Linked DNA regions of Homo sapiens: regions 1, 2, 3, 4 and 6 are each linked to region 5. The links are contacts of gene promoters, found by promoter capture Hi-C in blood cells and fetal thymus (Javierre and others, 2016). All regions are on one chromosome and are shown on one strand. The core of a region is centred on a gene start or on the middle of the fragment in contact, and the rest is flanking DNA. Distances in the headings are between cores, read along the strand shown. Region 1 overlaps SLC1A2 (solute carrier family 1 member 2). Region 2 overlaps PDHX (pyruvate dehydrogenase complex component X). Region 3 overlaps PDHX (pyruvate dehydrogenase complex component X). Region 4 overlaps PDHX (pyruvate dehydrogenase complex component X). Region 5 holds the start of CD44 (CD44 molecule (IN blood group)). Region 6 overlaps SLC1A2 (solute carrier family 1 member 2).

What was found. Contacts are between HindIII fragments. The CHiCAGO score rates a contact against its expected background, and 5 or more counts as called.
Region 1: a fragment that was not itself captured here is called in contact with the fragment with the promoter of CD44 in region 5 in 2 of 17 cell types (non-activated CD4 T cells and naive CD4 T cells); the score reaches 6.9 in non-activated CD4 T cells.
Region 2: a fragment that was not itself captured here is called in contact with the fragment with the promoter of CD44 in region 5 in 4 of 17 cell types (activated CD4 T cells, naive CD4 T cells, naive CD8 T cells and 1 more); the score reaches 8.8 in activated CD4 T cells.
Region 3: a fragment that was not itself captured here is called in contact with the fragment with the promoter of CD44 in region 5 in 2 of 17 cell types (naive CD4 T cells and total CD8 T cells); the score reaches 5.7 in naive CD4 T cells.
Region 4: a fragment that was not itself captured here is called in contact with the fragment with the promoter of CD44 in region 5 in 3 of 17 cell types (activated CD4 T cells, naive CD4 T cells and naive CD8 T cells); the score reaches 6.0 in activated CD4 T cells.
Region 6: a contact is called between a fragment that was not itself captured here and the fragment with the promoter of CD44 in region 5, in 2 of 17 cell types (non-activated CD4 T cells and naive CD4 T cells). The highest score is 6.1, in non-activated CD4 T cells.

Annotation. Positions count from the first base shown.
Region 1 is chr11:35,279,069-35,281,768 of GRCh38, forward strand. SLC1A2 (solute carrier family 1 member 2) reads right to left here. Exons shown (of 11, transcript NM_004171.4): 9 at 1,799-1,933. Among named protein-coding and RNA genes, the nearest start is that of SLC1A2-AS1, 1.4 kb to the right of the region's middle. The HindIII fragment of the contact is 1,574 bases long and covers 571-2,144 here.
Region 2 is chr11:34,924,199-34,926,898 of GRCh38, forward strand. All of the region lies in intron 1 of PDHX (pyruvate dehydrogenase complex component X), which reads left to right. Among named protein-coding and RNA genes, the nearest start is that of PDHX, 8.9 kb to the left of the region's middle. The HindIII fragment of the contact is 513 bases long and covers 1,069-1,581 here.
Region 3 is chr11:34,976,848-34,979,547 of GRCh38, forward strand. PDHX (pyruvate dehydrogenase complex component X) reads left to right here. Exons shown (of 11, transcript NM_003477.3): 8 at 1,277-1,335. Among named protein-coding and RNA genes, the nearest start is that of MIR1343, 36 kb to the left of the region's middle. The HindIII fragment of the contact is 427 bases long and covers 1,155-1,581 here.
Region 4 is chr11:34,960,630-34,963,329 of GRCh38, forward strand. All of the region lies in intron 5 of PDHX (pyruvate dehydrogenase complex component X), which reads left to right. Among named protein-coding and RNA genes, the nearest start is that of MIR1343, 20 kb to the left of the region's middle. The HindIII fragment of the contact is 860 bases long and covers 1,005-1,864 here.
Region 5 is chr11:35,137,772-35,140,471 of GRCh38, forward strand. CD44 (CD44 molecule (IN blood group)) reads left to right here and starts at 1,400. Exons shown (of 18, transcript NM_000610.4): 1 at 1,400-1,599. The coding sequence starts at 1,533. It overlaps CD44-DT (CD44 divergent transcript), which reads right to left and starts at 261. Exons shown (of 3, transcript NR_120528.1): 1 at 1-261. RefSeq lists enhancers at 565-1,129, 2,297-2,700 and a silencer at 1,040-1,109. The HindIII fragment of the contact is 6,539 bases long and covers 1-2,149 here.
Region 6 is chr11:35,350,766-35,353,465 of GRCh38, forward strand. All of the region lies in intron 1 of SLC1A2 (solute carrier family 1 member 2), which reads right to left. Among named protein-coding and RNA genes, the nearest start is that of SLC1A2-AS2, 67 kb to the right of the region's middle. The HindIII fragment of the contact is 2,713 bases long and covers 1-2,630 here.

The DNA.
Region 1 (2,700 bases), core at 108-2,607, 140 kb after region 5:
GTCAGAAAATTTGCTACTGGCAAGTCAGGCAGTTTGAAAAATAAGTGTGGGCACTTTGGCCTTGGGACTCTGGGCCAGCACTTGTCACTCTGTGCCTCTGACATTGAAGACTGGCATTGCCGGAGGCCCTATCATTTAACTCCAGTGCTGGACAGGAGGCATCAGATTACATCTCACAGAACATCCAAGCCCAAGTGGGCACTTAGAGGGGATCCATTCCAACCCCCTTGTCGAAGACCATCTGGTTAGACTTTCCCACCTTTGTGAATGGGCAGTGAGTATTCTACATGAGGAAAATGTCCTTCACTGGGAAAGGTAGCTGAACTACCATACATGGTCAAGTTCAAGTTTCTCTGCATGGCCTTTGAGGATGTCCGTCTTGCTCACCTTTCACCACGCCCTGCCTCCAAGAGTACCAGACCACTTGTACATCCTCACACTGCTGGTAGCCTCAGTGCCTTTGTGCAGGCTGGCCTTGACTGGAATGTCCTGTCTCCCCGTCTCCCTACATACACCTGAGAAACTTTTACCTATTGGTTATGATTCAGCTCAGCTACCACTGCCTTTAGAAGCTTGAATGTGACCATAAACAAGAATTTGTCAGGCTCCAGAGGCAGCCTGACCTAGGGTCGAATATCTGTCCATTTCTAAGTCTCTTTACCTCTATAAACCTCAGTGTCCTCATCTATAAAGTGGGAATAATAACATTTAACTTTCAAGGTTGTTAAAGAGGAAGATGTAAAGTGCTCAGTCTAGTAGCTGGAACCTAGTGAACACTCAAATTCAGTAACCACTTTCATGTTTCTTGATATTCTCCGCTCTGTCCTTCCATTCTTGACTGGGATGAAGGCCTCTCTCTATCACTATGCTTTTATGTGTGTGCTGTGTTTTAATCACTTTACTGAAGCATAATTTACATACAACAAAACGTACCCATTTTAAGTGTGTGTTTTGAAGAGTTTTGACAAATGTAGACACCTGTGCATACCTGTGCATATGGAACATTTCTGTCACTCCCAAAGGTTTCCTTGTGTTCCTTCCCAGTTAATCTCTATCCCCCTATACCTGGCCCAAGAAACCACTAATCTCTTTCTTTTTTCTTTTTTTTTCTTAGGCAGAGTCGCACTCTGTCCCCTAGGCTAGAGGGCAGTGGCACAGTCTCAGCTCACTGCGACCTCCGCCTCCCGAGTTTAAGCAATTCTCCTGCCTCCGCCTCTTGAGTAGTTGGGATTATAGGCACATGCCACCACGCCCAGCTAATTTTTTGTATTTTTAGTAGAGATGGGGTCTCACCATGTTGGCCAGGCTGGTCTTGAACTCCTAACCTCAGATGATCCACCTGCCTCGGCCTCCACAAGTGCTGGGATTACAGGCATGAGCCACCGCACCCAGCCCCAACTGATCTCTTTCTATTGATATGTGGTACATCGTCTTTTCTTAGAGCTTCATATAAATGGAATCATACAGTACATACTCCTTTGTTTCTGGCTCTATTCATTCAATATAATGTTCTGAGATTCTTTGAATGCATCAGTAGCTGGTTCCTTATTACTGTACTTTTAACCTTGTGTCATAATCTCTCTGATTCCTCCACTAGACTGTGACGCCTTCAAATATTTCATCTTTTTCTTCTTTGGTTCTCAAATAGGTCCTCAGTAAATGTGAGCGGGAAGGAGGAAGGAAGAGTGAGGGAGTTGCCATGGGGATTAGCTAAGATCTTGGTTGCAACCTTGCCACCTGTGCATCCCTAGGAGGCAGTACTCACAGTCCCAGCAGAACCCCATCCACAGACACTTACAGCAGCCAGTCCACAGCCACCAGCAGGCTGATGTCCTCTGTTGGCAGGCCCACGGCTGTCAGAATGAGGAGCATGGTGACCAGCCCGGCACTGGGGATACTGGCCGCGCCGACGCTTGCCAGGGTGGCTGTGAGGCTATGAGAACAGAGAAGTTCAGGTCATGGAAATGGAAAGAATCTTAGCAAAACCAACCCTGGCAATTTTAAGCTCTAATTTTCCTGCAGCCATAAAATTCATCCCCCAACCCCCACCCCATACTCTCCACCAAGGAATAGAGAAATCTAAAGTACTAAGACCAAGGAATTAAGGATTAAGGCCTATTTGGGTACTGCTCAACTATGATGTAAGCTTATAAATTCATGGACTGGAGCCTTATTCCCATGATGCTATCCGGTTAGTCTAATATATCACAGGGCTCAAATAAGGCAAGCGTGGCTCTAAAAGCAGGCAAGGAAATATTAAAGATAAAAACAAATCACCCTTAATCCTCCCATGGGAACACAACTGCATTCATTTCTGCTTACGCTTTTATGTCTCTGTGAGCACCAGAGGCTTTTGGACTATGTGGCAAGGGTCTAAGAAGGCCATTGCCAAGGTTAACATGAGAACTCAGAATAGCAAATATCCAGACCCAACTGAGTTGGACATCAGGGAAACAAATCAACAGATTCCAAATGACACTAAGCGTCAGGCGCCTGGATGCCTCACCATGGGCTGGAAAATACATTATTCAGAAAGGGGATGCCAAGAAATGATAATGAAAGAAAGGAAGGCTTTCTTTCTGAAGCATCTCATCAGTTCTTTCCAAGCAATGCCAGGGCCACACCCAGCACCATTTTGAAGTTTGTCTCTGGGAGAGGGTTAATCTGGAGTTCAAGTGCCCTGTCCTGACACCAGGGAGT
Region 2 (2,700 bases), core at 75-2,574, 210 kb before region 5:
TTTTGAGACTTATTCTTTGCCAAGTCCCATGTGTTACCTTCTTTCTTTCTTTCTATTTTTTTAGATGGAGCCTTACTCTGTCGCCCAGACTGGAGTGCAGTGGGGCGGTCTCGGCTCACTGCAACCTCTGCCTCCCGGTTTCAGGCCTCCCAAGTAGCTGGGACTATAGGCATGTGCCACCAAGCCTAATTTTTGTATTTTTAGTAAAGACGGGCTTTCACCATGTTGTCCAGGCTGGTCTTGAACTTCTGACCTAATGTGATCCACCCGCCTCAGCCTCCCAAAGTGCTGGGATTACAGGCATGAGCCACTGCTCCCGGCCTACCTTATTTCTTTACAAAAATCTATTTATGGCACCATTTTAGAGAAGAGGAAACAGACATAGATAGAATAAATAACTTGTAGGTGGTGGATCTGAAATTAGAGCCTAGGCAGTTTGATTCCAGTACCTATTCTCTAAATCACTGTGGTATTCTGCTTCTCCTTGAGTTTTTTTAAATTAAATATTTAAATAATAAAATATTTCATTTAGCACAATAGTACATGCATATAGTTTAAATAGTACTGAAAGGCTTGTAACAGTACAGTGGATCTCTGCCCCATCTCACCCAACTTTCCCAGTCTTCCTTAGAAGTAACTAGTTTTGTCTCTTAACTTTCTTCTGGCATTTGCCCATCTCTCTGTTTCTATTTTAGCCGTTTTCTGTGGATGACTGCCGGTCAGTGCCGCCCTCTGTTTTCCCTCCCCAGTGAAATTATTTTGTAATTCTTGGTCAAATATTCAGTGTTTACATTAAACAAATATTATGCACAATTGAGGATTGTCCCATATTTTGTTTGTTAGCTTTCTTTTTGCTGCAGTTATTGCTGCCCTTTAAATTTTTAGTTAGTTTTTTCTGTGATAATTTCTAATTTATCTCACGGTATGTAATAGCTTCTCCACACAGTTTTCTGTAATGTCAGCCACATCAGATACTTTCTCACTTAACTTATTTTTGCAGTTTTTATATATCCTCAGCTATGTAGATTGAACTTCAAGCTCTTCTTTTTGCCCTCTGCAGAGAAAACAAGCTTCAGTCTTCTGTTGAATGAGGGTAGGGTTGTTACCTACCACTGGATTAAGAGAGGGGATCCAGGTATCTAGCTACTTTTCAAACAGCAGCCACCCAAATCCTCCCTGGCTTAGGATACAGCTTTCTAGGGTCTCTTTAATTGATTATTACGTATCTATTTACTTTTCTGCTTCCAAAATTGTATGCTGTTATTCCTTTTCTCTGTGTCCTTGTGGGTTTCTGCTTAAAATTAACAAAAGCAAACAGCACATTTTTAAACTTAGTGTTAGTTAAGTTTGAAAGAGGAAGTAAGATTGGATAAATTTATTGTAGACATGTATGAAAATGTAGGTTATCAGAAATAAAAGAAATAAAAAGCCCTTATAGTAATATCACTAGCTAGAATGACTACTATTGTCATTTTGGAGTATTTCATTTCAATCTTTGTATGTGTACAAGCTGGGCAGGTAGTAATTGGATGATGCCATATACAGGTTTGAGCATCTCTAATCTGAAAATCTGACATCCAAAGCTTTTTGAGCACTGACATGATGCTCAGAGGTGATGCTCAAAGGAATGTTCATTGTAGCATTTGGGATTTTGGACTTTGAGATTAGGGATGCTCAACCAGTAAGAATAATGAATGCAAATATTCCAAAATCTGAAAAAATCTGAAATTAAGAACTCTTATAGTCCCAAACATTTCTGATAAGGCATACTCAACCTATATATTGCTTATGGGTTATCTTTTTTATGTTTGTTAGCATGCCAAGACCTGTAAATGCTGTTTTCACACAAACTGTTGTGCATTCATTTTCTGTTGTGGTCCATTGACATTTTCAGTCTATTTTTACTCCAGTACCACACCAAAATAACTATTTGAACAAAGAAGACTTATATGACAAACGATCCTTTAAAACAAAAAATACTATAACTGCCTTTATTCCAAGTGTTAATATTACTCTGTGCCTAGTGCTGATTTTTAAATTACTTTTACTTTATTCTGCCTTATTTCATCCAGCCTGCAGATGGCAGAATTGTTTCATTTGAACAGCAATTTTGAAGGCTCCGTTTTATTTAGTGTGTTCTGACATTGGAATGAGAAGTGATTAAATGAACAGTCTCTCTCCCTATTAGAGAAGAAGCAAATTAATGTTAGAGACAGGGAGCCACACTAAGAAAGTACTGGATAATTTACTTTTTCATTTGGTCTATCTTCATTTCATGATTTTTGCATGCTTGGATTATAAATGAACTAGAGCCTATAAATGAACTAGAGCATGATGTTTAAGCTGTACCATATGTAAACTGCTGAATTCCCTTAATTACTTTAGTCAGAGTAATGGAGCTTAAATCTGCTTCATATTAACCATAAAGCAGTTTGTTCTGCATTTGTATTTTAAGAGTTTGCTTGTATTAAATTTTTTTTTTAATCTAGAGACCTTTTAGCATTCATGAATCAATCATCAATTTAAAGCTTTGATATAATTGAGTTTGCTGAAGTATGAGCATTTTGTTCTTAGGATAAAAGAAATACTTTAGGGAAGAAGAAACTAGAATTAGATTAGTGTACCATATTTGAAATTGAAGTCAGAATTATGCTGTAGAAAAATTGGAAGAGCCCATTTGAGGAAATACAGGAATTGCTT
Region 3 (2,700 bases), core at 118-2,617, 160 kb before region 5:
ATACCTGTGGGTAAGTAGATAAAGTGAAGAGAAAGCTGAGAGAGCCATGAAAGGTAAGCAGAGTAAGTTCATGAACTGTTACATTTGAATTTGTACAAACCAAATCTTTCTATGTGGTTATCATTAAAAGCTTGTAAGCACTGTAAGTCCATTTATATTTCTATTCCTAAAGGGGTTTTAAGCAAAAATGTTTATATATTTCTGGAATTCTGAATTAGAGGAGCTTTGATACTTTGCAGCTGACAGTTATCGTGACAGTTTGACAGTATTTAGGTTTATGGTAATTCATCTAATCCCTTTCTGTAGTCTCCAGGATGCCTTTGGAATGAGCTGTTATTCACCTAAAATTCCGTGATACTTTAGTAATAGGATAGGTTTTTTGCCACATACCACTGACTAGATCTAGATCTTAGAGTCTTTTTCTATAAGCTCTTGCAAGAAAGAATCAAGTGTTGTTTACATTTTCTAACACTGTTATACCCAGTGGCAAATGCAAAGACATAAACAAATACTTTAGTTATGATCAGCTCGTAGGAAGTGGGAGGACCCCAGCTTTATCTTAAAATCATTATGTATACTGGAAAGAAATTGATTCAAATGCATTCACCATAAAACTATGGATGGAGAACCTCATTTTATTAATCACACTAGGACCTATGCCAGCATTGCTTCATCTTTGGCTTTTGTTATATCCTGTTTTGTTAAGTTAAAAAGCAGTTAAATTTTTTTTCACCTACACCCCATTAGTAAAAAGAAATTTTCGAACACTTTCCCATATGTGTATATATAACTGTTTATATATAAAGTACCTACATGTATCACTGTTCTAGTATAATCAGTATGTTATAAAGCATACAGAGAATAAGGGTATTTGAAAAGAACGAGGAAGAAAATGAATCATCTTGTAAACTTCCTGACTGCACACACCACAGAGAGATCATTTGTCTTTTTCGAGACATAGGAGTTAGTTCTTTTTTTCTGATTATGCTTGTAATGGGTCCTTCAGGTTCTTGTGTATGATATCTAAGCAATTTAAAAAATTGATAACCAAGGCCCAGAAGTAAACTTACATTCATGGTTAATATTATTGATCCAGGACCTCATATAATGCAAGTTTTTCTAATCATGGGAACCTTATTGACTAAGCAAACAAAAGCTTGTAATTTTTTATCATTGTTTGTCAGTACATTCCATAATTTACAAGTTTGAAGTTGTAATGGTCAATGTTAAAGTTATATTAGGAATACTAATTTTACTAACCTTATTTTTCTTTCAGATGACATTAAAGTATCAGTAAATGATTTTATCATCAAGGCAGCAGCTGTTACCCTTAAAGTAAGTAGCAGACTTCAAATGATTTTGTCTTCTTAAGTAGTTTCATGTCGTGGAATTTTTACAATGACAAATAGAACTCTTATTTTTAAATCACAAAAATTTTATAATTGTCTTGCTAAAAATATCCTATCGTTTGATCTCCCTCATTTTACAAATGAAGAAACTGTAAATCAAAAGGGCTCACAATGAATTAGAGCAGGATGAAAACCATTTATTCTAGGCATTAGAGATAGAGCAGTAAACAAAAGCTTACTTGATTTCTGCTGTCCCTGGGGCTTACATTCTAGTTGGAGGAGACAAACACTATTATATGTCAGATGGTGAAAGTGCTGAGGAGAAAAAGAAAGGATAAGGGGACAAAGTAACTAGGGGTGATTTTTCAAAAGGGAAGCGAGGGAAGCCCCTCTGACAAGGCGATAATTTAGATACGGCCTGAGAAAACAGAGGGAGTGAGCCACATAGGTATGTGGTAAAAGTGCATTCCACACAGAGGGACCAGCAAACACCAAGGCTGCAAGCAGAGGATCGCATTAACCAAAGATGTGGTGCTGAGGGTGGAATGTGCCTAGTATGGAGAGGTGGGAGATAAGATTTAAATAACAGTGGGAGAGCATGAAGGGGAACCCAAGTACATGAGGCCTTGTTGGACATGGTGAGGACTAGGGATTTTATTATGGGTGAGAAGGAAGCCTTTGGAGGGTTTTGAACAAATAACTAATGTGATCTGACTTATACTTCAGAAACGAAAAGGAGAGGCTGCCCTGGGTGCTGTGTAGAATGTAGCCTGTGGAGAGGCAAGGGAGGAGACGATGAGCTCCCCTGGGAGGCTTTAGAAGATCACAGTGGCTTGGACAAATGTGGTAGCAAATGGAGCTAGGGTGAAGTGGAGATTTGTGTTATGTTTCAAAAGTAGAGCCAACAGGATTTGCTGATGGATTGGATATGGGGTGTGAGAAAGAGAAACAAGCATTTTGGCCCAAGCAATGGGAGGAATGAGTTTTCCATGTACTAAGATTGGGAAAACTGGGAGGGGTATAGCTTTGGGTTAAGGAATCTAGAGTTTGGTTTTAGACATGTTACATTTGAGGAGCCTAACAGATATTCCAGTGGAGGTGGCAGGAAGGCAGGTGAACATATGAGCCTGCAGTTCAGTGGAGGTGATGTAAACCTAGCTGGCTGGAGTTGTAAATCTAGAACCCAGGCTTCCTGCCTTCCTGCCTGGCACTATTTTTCATCATGCCTCCTTTCTGTAACGAGGCTATTTTCTGGGATCACTGCTTGTTAACAGACTGTATTTAAAGTACATTTATAATTAACTTTTTATTTCTTGAAAAATACATTAATGAGGGTTCCATGGTGTAATGG
Region 4 (2,700 bases), core at 185-2,684, 180 kb before region 5:
GTTCTTCTTTTGTACTTTTAATTGCTTTTATCATTGTAAATTGTATTCTATGCAAGAGTTGTTTTCTGAATAATTATAGCATTACTGAAGAACAGCTCTAATTTGGTAACTAAGCAAGATCCTTAGAAGTGGTAATAAATGCAGAAAATTAGAGCGTAGAACAGTGAAACTTTATACAGTATTAAATATGTGAAATCATGCAATAACATTTACATTTCTAAAACAAGGAAATATATTTTTAAAAAATTATTTTCATTATCCCTTTGAATTTTATTCACTTGTGCTGTTATAAAGCAATTTCCATATACAGTTTGGTCTCTTTTTAGATTTTCTTTTCTATTTCACTGATCCATCTGTCCATGAGTTAGTACCATACTTTTTTAGTACCACACTTTTAATTAGAAATGTTTTATTGTATGCTTTAAAATCTGATAACAATAGCTTTGCTCTTTTTTTAAATCAGTTTTCTTAGTTCATTCTTATTTTATTATTCTTCCAAATGAATTTTAAGCAGTTCGTCTAGCTCCATGGGTAGGAGTGAGGGGTATTTTTATGGGATTGTATCACATTTTAAATTAACTTTGTGAGAACTGACATCTTTATCATGATGGGTCTTTCTGTTCTGCAACACTGGTTTAAATGTTTGTGTCTTTCCATTAGTTTAAATGTTTGTGTCTTTCAAAACAGATGGCCCCTGTTCTGTTGAAACTTAGTCTAGTAGGGTAGACAAAGATTAATCAAATAGGCTTATGAACTAATGTAAGATTTCAGTAGTGTTATGTGCTACATTTTTATTGGCAGTAATAGTAAATGTTTCAAATTGAGTTTATGTTTTAAAGCAATGTACTCATTCCATATTTATCTAATATTGATAGGAAATAAAAAATAATATTGGCCAGAATTTTTGTAAGTCGAGAGAGAGCAATGGTTGTTAAATTATAAGTGGCAGTGTTGGGCCAGGCAATGTTTTCTTTTTTCCACTGGGTTATTTTACTCTTCATGAAAGCTTTGGCTTACTGTTGGGTGTTTATTTTATTGAAAGCAGTATATAGATTTAATTCTTAGATATCCTCATTTATGTGTATTACACTCTTACTAATTTGTTAACTGAATGTATGTGGTTCTATCACACACATACTGTGAAGTTCGTGCCACACTGCATGAGTTGGAAATCAGCTGTCCTGAGAGCTGACTGAAAGGCAACATCCCAGACCATGGGATTTTTAGTTAAAGGATTTAAAAGTTACACTTAGCTGTAAAAAATTAAAATTAAGAACCTTGGTTGCCAGTTAATCCCAGTTTTTTCCCCACACCAATCCTGATTTGTGTCTACTGTTGGTATCTTAATCTTGTTAGTCTCTACCAGTCTGTGCCTTAGTAGCACTCTCTGTAAAAATGGGAGAAAGCAACTATTTTTATAACAAAGTAGATTTGCCTTGCTCATAATTCTGAGGATTAGGAATAAGAGTCTGTATTTAATTCATTAATCTTTGAGGATTTGGTGAAATGTAAAATAATGATTGCTGCACCTTAGGGGGATCAGTTCTGCAAATTTGTGTAAGATAAACTGGAGCAGAAAAAGATGAGATAAGGAGATAAATTAATAGGCTCCTAAAGTAATCCATGTAAGAGGTAATGAATACTTGAATGTGGTTAGAAGAACTAAAAGGGAGATCCCTGATACAGACAACATTGTAAGGATAAAGTCCAGAAGCCTTTGCAGATTAAATGTGGAGTGTAGGCCAGAGTAGCAACAAGTAAGGGAATGAATTTGGATCTGGTCTAGGTGATGATAGTTTGGTCTCCATAAATAGAAATAATGGATTTGGGAAGCATTTGTTTTGGTGGAGTTAGTAATGTTTGAAGCTTATTGTCAGGACTTAGAAGCCATGTAGGTATTGGGATCAATGAGATGAAGATGTATCTCAGGAGATAGTTGGGGATTAGAGAGGTAGATTTGGTAGATAATAAAGCAATAGTTATAATTGAGATCATCAATAGGGAAACTAGAGGTTAAAATCCTTGAGTTGGAGGATACCTGGGAAATGTGGGAAAAGTCAAGGATGGTAGGATCTAAGAAAAGCCTCTTAAATTTGGTAATATGGTGTTCAGTAGTGTGACAGCAGTAAAATAAAGAAATAAAGGTTTCTTCCTTCCTTTTCTTTCCATGTGTGCTTAATACATATATGATGCGCAAATATCTTTTTTTAAACCTGAGTTGAAAGTTATAATATTAATGAAACATTTCTTAAGAACAAAATGGTATTATCTCCTGAATACCATAAGGAAGCAGTATTAAAGAGTTAGGCTTTTAGTATTATTGCCATCTTTTCTACCCTGTTACCCTTTTCTCTTCCCTGCCTTTATTCCTTAACTCTCCACGAGAAAGGCATCAGCCTTTGGTCTTCAAAATAAGAACTAGTACAAAAGATTTCATGAGAAAAATGGATCCTGAAAGCATATATTATTGAGGATTTTTGCTTTTCTATACTGCTAAAAATGCCTGCATTTTAAGTTTATCATTAAGGTGAGCTTTGGAAAAAATTTTAGCCTAATGTCGTCTTCTGCTATGGTTGAAAAATTGCAGGCTTTGGCATAGCTGTCCCCAAAATATCTTAGCACACTTTTTTATTTTTTAACGTTTTGAATTTTTTTTTCTTTAAGAGAGAGACAGGCTCTCACTCTGTCACCCAGGTTGGG
Region 5 (2,700 bases), core at 150-2,649:
ACTCACCAGGCAAGAAGTCCATGCAGATTTACTTTTAGTAGTTCACATGACAAATAAATACTGCGTTTGATTTCCAAACATTAAACCATAGTATATTATAGATAGATATAGAGTTATCATTCAAAGTATGATATTTCAATCTCAAAAGGCTTCCCCTGAAGAATATTACAAACTCTTCCTCTCTTTAAGATCTGCTGGGTAGGAAAGATGGGAGAAAATGAATTAATGTTTACACAGAAAGGAGGATAATGGGGGCAAAAATAATAGATGAACGTATGGGTGGATGAGAGAATGGATAAAATGATAGGTGGATATGTTGATCTTGGACAGATGGGAAATGAGTGGATATATCAATAAACAGATATGTGGGTGGATGGGTGGAGAAGAGGATGGTGGATGGTTGTGGTTTTATGAAGAGATGTGAAAAAGGAAGTGTGGAATGATGGATGAGAAGTTGTATGGGAAGATGAATAGAAGAATAGGTGGTTGAATAAATTAAAAGGTGTGTGGTTGGATGAATGAATGAGTGGGATGATAGATGGACCTAAGTGGTTAGTGGATGGACAGGAGGATGGATGGATGTGAGAGCCCCAGAAGGACATAAGGAAAGATGGGTGGATAGATGGATGGGCGGATGGAAGGATATTTAGGAGGATGAATGAGCATGTGTGTGGAGAGAGGTGCCCATTCACACTGGCTTGAACACATGGGTTAGCTGAGCCAAATGCCAGCCCTATGACAGGCCATCAGTAGCTTTCCCTGAGCTGTTCTGCCAAGAAGCTAAAATTCATTCAAGCCATGTGGACTTGTTATTGAGGGGAAAAAGAATGAGCTCTCCCTCTTTCCACTTGGAAGATTCACCAACTCCCCACCCCTCACTCCCCACTGTGGGCACGGAGGCACTGCGCCACCCAGGGCAAGACCTCGCCCTCTCTCCAGCTCCTCTCCCAGGATATCCAACATCCTGTGAAACCCAGAGATCTTGCTCCAGCCGGATTCAGAGAAATTTAGCGGGAAAGGAGAGGCCAAAGGCTGAACCCAATGGTGCAAGGTTTTACGGTTCGGTCATCCTCTGTCCTGACGCCGCGGGGCCAGCGGGAGAAGAAAGCCAGTGCGTCTCTGGGCGCAGGGGCCAGTGGGGCTCGGAGGCACAGGCACCCCGCGACACTCCAGGTTCCCCGACCCACGTCCCTGGCAGCCCCGATTATTTACAGCCTCAGCAGAGCACGGGGCGGGGGCAGAGGGGCCCGCCCGGGAGGGCTGCTACTTCTTAAAACCTCTGCGGGCTGCTTAGTCACAGCCCCCCTTGCTTGGGTGTGTCCTTCGCTCGCTCCCTCCCTCCGTCTTAGGTCACTGTTTTCAACCTCGAATAAAAACTGCAGCCAACTTCCGAGGCAGCCTCATTGCCCAGCGGACCCCAGCCTCTGCCAGGTTCGGTCCGCCATCCTCGTCCCGTCCTCCGCCGGCCCCTGCCCCGCGCCCAGGGATCCTCCAGCTCCTTTCGCCCGCGCCCTCCGTTCGCTCCGGACACCATGGACAAGTTTTGGTGGCACGCAGCCTGGGGACTCTGCCTCGTGCCGCTGAGCCTGGCGCAGATCGGTGAGTGCCCGCCGCAGCCTGGGCAGCAAGATGGGTGCGGGGTGCTCAGCGCGGACCCGGCGGCAGCCCCTCCGGCTGAGTCGGCCCTGGGGGACTGGAGTCAAGTGAGCTGTCTGCGAAGTGCATTGGGCTCCGGAAAGCAGGGCTGGGATTTGCGCTAAACCGTTGGAGAATGTGTCTGTGGAAGCACCATTTGGTTGAAAGAAAAAGAGAAAGAGAAGAAAGTTTGTTGGGCAGGCTGCCGGCGCGCAGTTTTGGGCGAGGTCGCTAGAGCTGCAGCACATGGCAGAAAGTAACCGTTCTCCCGGATGCGCACAGTCGTTGTCTGGACTAACAGGCTCCTGTGCCCAAGGGCTCGCCAAGCCCCACCGGGCTGTGTCTAGGCAGGGCAGAGCTGGGCGGGGCAGAGACTGGGGCTGGAACAGGGCGAGTGGCTGTTATCAAGGTGGTCACAGAAGGGATCACAATTCCAAGTGTGAGACTAGCTGGCAATGGGTTTTCCAGAAAGGGGTCCTGGGTTCTCCCAGCTCCCCACTGAGCCTTGTTCCAAAGCTTACAGTCCGCAGTGTCACTGCCACCTTAGCGCTGTGGAAGCTTGAACCAGCTCTGCGGTGAGGTCTTGGGTCTCCATGAGATTCCAGCCTGGGATAGGGAGCATGAATATGAGAGGCAACCACTGGACCAGCTGCTTGGTCCTCACCACCTCCTGCTTCTGCCAATCAGTGTGGGGAAATCTCAACAGTAAGGTGGCTTATATTCCCTGCCTGGCAGCCTCAGAGCAGAGAGAAGAGCCTTGATACCAGGGCAACATCAGGGACCCTGGAGCTAGGGCTCCAATATCTCATCCAAACAGGGTCAGTGCTTTGTGGTGGCTATGGAGGGGAGGGGCTGCGTGTAAGGTATATTCTAGCACGGCTCAACTCCAAGCATTCTCTTTCTTTGTCTATGTATGTACAGATAATTACATGGCCGATTTGCTTATCGCTGGCCAAAATTAATCTTTCTTTTAAGAAGTGCCAGCTGGGTCATTAAGACAGCTCAGCCTGCATGCAGTAAATTCTACTCAGCAAATATTTATTAACCCAGTTCCACGGGAGTACT
Region 6 (2,700 bases), core at 24-2,523, 210 kb after region 5:
GCCTGGGCTGAGATTGGAGCTGCTTGTTGGTCTGAACCCAAATCTCCTACCAGGCACTGAAGTGTCCTCAATTCATGGTCTGGAAAATGAAATGGAAGGAGCCTTAAGATTTCATTCTTCTGACTCCCCTAAACTTTAAATACACCTTCTCTCTGAGAGAACATATTAATACTAAAAGCCACCAATATTTTTACTTCCTTTTAAAGATTATCTTAAAGAGTGAACCCATCTACCCACTATCCTCATCCAATAGAATCAGCTGACCCAGTCCTTGTTGGAGAGATTAATAAAAATAATATACTAATGATGGCTAACATTCATTGAGTACTTACTCTGAGTCAGGTACTATCCTCCAATAACCCAGTGAAATACATAATACCATTAGTCCCACTTTATAAGTGAGAAAATTGAGGTTTAGAGGATTAGGTAGGCTAACCATGATCAGGCAACTGATTAGTGCCAGAGACAGAATCCAAGCCAGGAATGCTTTACTTACGAGCCCATGCTCTTCTCTCTGCATAATGCTCTCCCCAGTGAACTTCCCACTCCTTCTCTGCCTCCCAAAATGACCAGAACATCTCTGCTTTCCCAGACAGCATGTCAGTTTCTCCTGGGACCATGGATCCTGTCTGAAGAACACTCCAGACCAGAGCACTTTCCTACTGACATGGACGTGTGTTCTCCCAGATACTTCACCCCACTCAGCTCAGGCCCTAAGGAGGTTTATAAGCTAAAAACAGTCTGGTTTTCAAGTAATATTGAATGACCCCATCAGATACAGTATGATTGGGAGTATATTGTGTGTACATTTAAAAGGTAAGACAGAAAACTGCAGATATACTCTGATTATTATTTTATTTTTTATTTTTATTTATTTATTTATTTTTTGAGACAGAGTCTTGCTCTGTTGCCCAGGCCAGAGTGCAGTGGCACAATCTCGGCTCACTACAACCCTCTCCTCCCAGGCTCAAGCGATTCTCCTGCCTCAATCTCCTGAGTAGCTGGGACTACAGGTGCATGCCACTACGCCCTGTTAATTTTTGTATTTTTAGTAGAGACGGGGTTTCACCATATTGGCCAGGCTGGTCTCAAACTCCTGACATCATGATCCACCCACCTCATTCTCCCAAATTGGTGGGATTACAGGCGTGAGTCACCGCATCTGGCCCTGATCATAATTTTATAAAAATTGTACATTGCATCGAGAAAAAAGTGGACACAAAAGGTTCCTAGTGGCTATCTGTGAATGATAAGATGATGGATGGGTTTTTACTTCCTTATTGCTTCTTTCCTTTATGTTTCCAACTTTCTACAGCAAAAATGAAGCATTTTTATGATCAGAAACAAAGTTGCTAACTAAGCTGACTGACCAAAAAGGAAAAAAGTCCATATGACTCAGAGTAAAAACAAAGAACTACTTAATCTATAAGAAACTTTGTTGGCACATGTTCTGTCTTTTTGCTACTTACATACCATGCCCTGGTTATGAATCTCAAACTTCATCTAGTTCCACTTAGTTTTCCAGCCTGCTTCTGATGTTGAGTGAAGAATGTCAGTGTTGGGAGTGAATTACCTTAACACATCCACGGTCCCTTATCAGTCCAAGCCACAGCTTTCTGCAGAGGGAAGGTTTAATTACCAAAAGCTCTGTGACGCAGTTAGCACTATTTTTGGCTGGCAGGCAGGGCAGGTTAGTTCTTTATCCATCCCTGCCTTGGCTGAGCCCCAGAGGTCACAGACAGAGAGCATTTTCACCATCCCAAGGCCAAGCCCATCTTTCTAGAAGCCATTCCAATGCTGCCTCTTGAGAAAGCAGTAAGGCCCCAGTTCCCTTCTGCAAAGGAGTGGCACAATTTCTCCTCCTGATATTCTCACCCCTGTCTAGAATTGCAAGCTGTCTCAGGGCATGCTCACTGCACTGAGAGAGCTGCCCTTGTTTTGTAATACACCTTACTGGATACATTTCAGAGGGTTAGGTTGAGATGGTTGGCAGTGAGTTCATGCATGGCTAAACTGCACCATGCGAGAAATCAATGGGAACTCAAGGGATTGGGAATTAAGGAGCTGGGGAGAAAAGAGGGGAGGTTTGAGCAGGAAGCAAGAGATCCTATCAATGTGGTGGGGAAGCATGTGCCTGGGCAGCAGAGATGGCCAATGAAAACTGTCCCAGCAGTGACAACCAGAGACCTCAATATAAAAGCAATGACAATAATAGCAATAATCATTTCAAGACCGACTTTGAATTTTGATATCTTATGTCCTTGCTTCTAAGATAGGCTTTTTTTTTAAGATTTAACATTTCTGAAATTGGGATGCATATTATAGTCAATATCAACATTTATCTACTATAGTATGTCTCTTTTTACTTGAAAAACTATTATTACATTGTGAGTGCAATTTACAACTAAGGGTGACTTAGAATGGAGTGAATGTGGCTGTTTAGAAACCTTCTGATAGAGACAGATGGGGTTGGGATGACATTCTCCTTTTCTTGTCTCTTTGCTCTTAAGGTTTCCACTCCCCTAACCGTTCATACAAATGCACAGAAGCAATGCCTCAGCTTCTCTTCTTCACCTAGCAGACTCCTGCTCATCCTTCCAATCTTGAATCAAATGTTGCTTCCTCCAGGAAGCTTCCCTGACCTAACTGAAAAAGTCTAACTCCCTGTTGATCTGTGTGATTGATGGATGTGCATCATCC